2 separate regions of the Homo sapiens genome follow, and region 1 is linked to region 2. The links are contacts of gene promoters, found by promoter capture Hi-C in blood cells and fetal thymus (Javierre and others, 2016). All regions are on one chromosome and are shown on one strand. The core of a region is centred on a gene start or on the middle of the fragment in contact, and the rest is flanking DNA. Distances in the headings are between cores, read along the strand shown. Region 1 has its middle 30 kb from the start of LINC02202. Region 2 holds the start of CLINT1 (clathrin interactor 1).

The links. The method cuts DNA at HindIII sites, captures the fragments that hold promoters and counts their contacts. A CHiCAGO score of 5 or more calls a contact.
Region 1: a contact is called between a fragment that was not itself captured here and the fragment with the promoter of CLINT1 in region 2, in 3 of 17 cell types (total B cells, naive B cells and fetal thymus). The highest score is 10.2, in total B cells.

What each region holds. Positions count from the first base shown.
Region 1 is chr5:159,129,593-159,132,292 of GRCh38, reverse strand. No RefSeq gene overlaps it. Among named protein-coding and RNA genes, the nearest start is that of LINC02202, 30 kb to the right of the region's middle. The HindIII fragment of the contact is 2,746 bases long and covers 1-2,635 here.
Region 2 is chr5:157,857,817-157,860,516 of GRCh38, reverse strand. It overlaps CLINT1 (clathrin interactor 1), which reads left to right and starts at 1,372. Exons shown (of 12, transcript NM_014666.4): 1 at 1,372-1,587. The coding sequence starts at 1,547. RefSeq lists enhancers at 1,084-1,323, 1,161-1,742. The HindIII fragment of the contact is 1,599 bases long and covers 1,206-2,700 here.

The sequences.
Region 1 (2,700 bases), core at 13-2,512, 1.3 Mb before region 2:
TTTTTAACAGAGGAGGTGATATATACCCCTCTGCTGTCAATGTCGAAGCAATTACGTGCCACCAAATGGCTTGTGATGTGCCATCTCCTCCTGATAAAGGCTCATGATAGATAGGATGTGGCAGAGGTCAGGAATTCTGCTGAGTACAACCTGAGGGTATCCTTCAAATTGCTTGAGCTTTCTCCAAATCCCCTAGGACACAATCAGAAAACGAGTCCCCTTTAATTTTGGTGCAGAGCTTTTTTCTTCCTTCTTCACAGAGATTCAGAGTGAAGATGCGTTAGGCTGAGCCATCTAATTGCATTCTTTACTCCCTAACATTAGTTTAGCCCTTTCCTGCTTTGTATCATCTATTATAATTACTAATTTGCTGGCCACAATTAGCATAGGGGGTTTTATAGAAGCAGAAACAATTTCTTAGCTGCCCAATGTTACTAAATAATTTAAAAAGGGGAAGACAACGAATTTCCATCAAATGTGCTTTGTTTTCTTAATGCATGTGTTGCCATTAAGGAAAACCATTATAAGGTAAAGAAATCAGGAAATTCATAAAGATCAATACACCAATTATTTCCTGCATTATAAAAGTTACCTCTTCATAATTTTCTTTTCCTGGTGAGGTAGATTTAATTTGCTATTAGAAACTCAAAAGCTGAGAGGTCAGTTTCACTGTTCAAAACAGACTGCTCTTTGTCTAGCAGGAAACAATGTTTTCCCAAAAAAAAGTCCAGAGAGATCACATCCCCCAAAAAAATCATCATTGAAAAGGTTGATTATGAATCAATAGAAACTTTTTTTTCTATAACAAATTATGTTGAACTATACTGTACCCCCCAGGCCCCACCCCCAAATCAGAGTAAGAATCTCTTGGGGGTTTTTTGTTTGTTTTTTGTTAGTTTTCATCACTGTAACTATGCTGAAATTCAAAGCAGGGTGGGCAGATATTACACAACTTCATGAAATATACTAAATATACCAGTGGAAATCAAATGTGAGGCATGGTTAGTTTCTGCTGGCAGACTTACTTGAGATTTTCTGAAGAATTCTTCAGGTTTCCTCCAGCCCCATTTGTTCCTGATGCTGATCAGTGTTGATGATTCCATTATCTTCTTTATGTTACAGATTCCTCCCTCCCCCAATGTTCACTCTATTGTTTTATTATGTGTTGACATCAGCCTGCGGACGATGGTGTTCTGGCAGAGTCCCCTTCCGTGGCTTTCTGAATACCACTGGTAAGTGTACTTTGAGCCTCTTTCTGGAACTATATCCCCAGGGCTGCAAATTATACTTGATTTCATTGTTTGCAAGTGTGTAGAGCCAACATGTCTGTTTAAGATACTGAGCCAAGTATTGTCTTTCCAGTACATCTATAACTATTGATTCCTATGAGAGAGGCCTAATTATATTTGTGCTTATCTTAAAACCACAGCAATGAAAGAGGCTTTAAAAATTCCTTCATCTCATCTAGGGCCTGGGTCCGTCCCCATCCCCTATCAGCCTTCTGTGGTACAAGTAATAGAAACCAACTCTGGGCAAGTTAAACCAAAAAGGGTATTTGTGTTATTGAAAGGGGGTCTCCAGAAATAAAAAGGCAGCTGAAGAACCAGGCTAGGACGACTCAGGAACCATGAAGATTCTGGGGATCTAGGTGACAGGCACTGACCAGTGGTGTCACCCAGTGGTGACTCCAAGGAGATATTTGAGGATATTTGGAGGAACTTTAAACCCCTCCATCCTACCCTAATTCTTTGTGTGAGAAGTTGAGCTTTCTTACCTTTATGCAAAATGCTATACGAAGATAGGTTAAAGTGGTCCCCCAAATCCTGCCCTCAACAGACTGCCAGCCCCATCCCTTCTACATAGAAATTATAAGGCTGCCATTGAAACAACCACGGGGGGTGGTCAGCTTTGCATAGTCTTCCCAACCCCATACTTAACCACTGCAGAGAAGAGAGTCTTGGGGAAGAAAGTCCATCTGGACAATCTTAGGTGTGTGACCACCCTTCGGCCAGTGTCACTGTTTAAGTCAAGGCTGCCACAATAGAGGAGAGGTAATTCTTCACAGGGAAAATTGAGGGCTGTTCCCCAAGGGAAAGAGAATGGCCAAAAAACATGTGGCCACTACCTTACCAAGAGAGTGAGAATCACTTTCAGTGATATTGGCTGTGCTGACTCTTCAAGTAGCCTCTTGAGAAGATCTGGTGGTTGCAAATCCTGCCTTTCCTTGAAGAGAGCTCAGCCACCCACACCCTTCATGGCTTTCCTCTACTGATCCTGGCTACACATTCTTGAGCTCATCCAAAGCACGTCTTTCAGATGTTTGATGTCAGCTTGCAAGTCAAACTCTCTTTGCAAGTTGCTCTCTCCTTCTCTAGATATTTTTGGGAGCTCTGAACTAGCTATTTTATTTTGCTGGGTTGCGCTTGCCCCAAATCCTTACATGCCTGACTCTATTTCACCCTTCAGTTCTCAGCTCAAATTTCATCTTCTAGATGAGACCTAATCGGACAAATCAAGCTCAAGGCCCTCGTACTCAATGCTTCTCTCTGTCTGCCACCCTGCATACTCTTTATTGCAATATGAAATTACTTTTTTGGGGTTTACTTTTTGTCTATCTTTCCCATGAAACTAAGCTTTAAGTTCCATGAGAACAGAGACCTTCTCTGTCTTTGTATTACTGTATATACTTCTTGCCTAGAA
Region 2 (2,700 bases), core at 123-2,622:
TGAGCCACTGTGCCTGGCCTGTAATGAACTATTGTAGAACCTAAGATTGGCCTTTTAAGACGTCTTTTCAGGCTTTTGCATTTCTGACAAACGGATGACCCCACCCAGACCAGCCACTCCTCTGCTGGCCCTCCATCAAGAAGCCGATTCAGCAAAGGAGAACCATTTTCCATACTCCTCTGATTGCATCCCTAACCAATCAGCAGCACCCATGCCCTAACCCTCTGCTCACCAAACTATCTTTGAAAAACTCTAGCTTCCAAATGTTCAGGAAGATTGATTTGAGTAATAACTCTGTCTCTCAAGTGGCATGGCCAGCCTCATGTCAAACTCTTCACTGCAATGACTTGGTCGCAGTGAATTGACTTTATCTGTAAAGTGGGCAGAAAGAACCCGCTAAGCAATTACACTATATGCAATTATCTTAAATGTTTCCTTGATTATTATATGTTTCTTCCAATTACGTTTGAATTCCAAGAGAGCTGGGTCTTTAACTATATTCCCCACTTCTGGAACATACAAGATGCTCAATAAATATTTGTAGAATGAAAAGAACTGTAAAATTTCAGCAGATGGATCAAATGAAACTTAAGGTTGCTTGTAGCTTTAACATGAGCATTGATAAAAATGAGTAAGTAGAGAAGGAAGTGATGACAACCATTGCAACAAAGCAATGGAAGCAATGTGCATATTTATCCTTAAAAAACACAAACCTGTCATATGTATGTGTATGTGTGCGTGTATATATAATGTTGGCTTTTTAGTTTCCCGTGGAGTGTGAACTGAGTTTCTGAGGTTTATAGTAAAGCATTTAACAAGGATTTCAGGTAGTTGTCTAAATATAAAACATTGTATCATAGAATTAGAGCGGAAAAGGATTTAGAATACAAGTTCTTCAATTTTACAGGGGTGGAAACTAAGGCCTAGAGATCTAAGTGTACTTGGGCATTGGGAAATAAATACAGCGATGTGTCTGTCGATGAGGAATGCGTATGCCAATCATACTTCTGTATAATCATTACTAATAACATAGTAATACTGCCTTACATTTGAAAAGTGTTTGAGTGTGACTAGACCCTGCACCAGTGGTTCTGAAACTTGAGCGTGATCAGAATCACCTAGAGGATTTGTAAAAGCACAGATCGCTGGGCCCCACCTCCAAAATTTCTGGCTCGGTAGGTCTGGGGCCGGGGACTGGGAAAGCTTAAGAGAAACCATCCCAACTCCTCTCAGCTCTCCCAACTCAACCTCTCAGCTCTCCCAACTCAACCGGCCGAGCTCGGCACTCAGGGAAAACTACAAGTCCCGGCGTGCCCCGCGCGCAGCGGCGGAAAGTCGGACACTTCCGCTCCACGCAGCGCCTGTGCTGCCGCGTCTCGACGTGTCACCGGCGGCGCCGCTGCTGTGGCAAAGGAAGGAGCTGACTGGGGGAGTTCGAGGCGGCGGGCGGCGGTGACCCCGGCCTGGAACTGCCCCGGTACGGAAGTGTTCCGGGGTCCGTGGGGAGCAGGAGAGGGAGGCGGCGGACCGTCCCGCGCGGGGCACGATGTTGAACATGTGGAAGGTGCGCGAGCTGGTGGACAAAGCGTGAGTATCGGGGGGCAGTTGTGGCCGAGGCCCACGTGGGGGAGGGGGGAGGGGGAGAAGGAGCTGGCCTTGGGCTAGGGGTTGCCCACGTCACGCCCCCTGGCTCTGCCAGCCCCATCATGGCGGCGGCCCGCTCCTTCCCGGCCCCGGGCCTCATCCCCGCTGGCGAGGCTGGGGAGGGACCCTCCCTCGTTTTAAAAAAAAACATCCTCTTGGCCACCCTTCTCTCCTTTCCAGGCCTTCCCGTCCCTTCCCCTATTCCAACCCCTGGGTGCCGACGCTTTGGTCATAAGGGGCGGGTTGTTTGGCGCTGGGTCACTGCCCTGGCCGGAGGACTGTCTTGGCCCCAGGCCGTGGGCTTTGCCTCCTGGGGAGCAGGGAAGGTTTGGGGGTGGGGGGCACAATGCACTGGTTCCCTGTGTCCCTCAAGGTGTAGTACGGAGAGACCTTAGACCTGGTTGGGGTGTGTCTTTTATCTTCCTTGCCTCCTCTTAATTCCTAATGAACCTGAAGTGTTGGAGTGGGTGGTAGTAGTGTAACAAGTGGCTATTGTGGTCAGCCTGAAGTTACTCAAGAAGACACTCATCCTTTGCTTTTCTAACACTAGTGAAAGTAGATCACTATATGACTTCTTGCGATTTTTTCTTCTGTTTCTTTTTCCACTACACATCATTTTTGGTGTGCTACTTGTTCCATTCGATTAAATTAAGAGGTCATTAAGAAATGTCCTCTTAAGGAAAAAAACAACCCAGGTTTATATCCTGTTGATCTGCTTTTAAAAGCAGGTAAAACGACCAGTACGTAGTTGATTTCCTTTAAGACTGAAATAACTTTAGTCTCTTACTTGCACAAGGAAAACCTTAACTTTTAAAATGAGTATATCAGGTATAACAGTGGTTAAGTAAGGTCTTCTAGGCCAGCAGGAAATAAAGTTTAAGAATTTAAGCAGTCCTCTTCCTTTGGGGCTTTAATGATTATGCAATAAGTGTGGTGAGAAAAACAGTTGATTTGTGCCACCCACCTAACCTAAAATCAGGAAGTATAGATAGCAAACTGTTTTCTTGACACCAGGAAACAAAGTAATTTCCAGTGCCTTGTCTGATACATCAGATA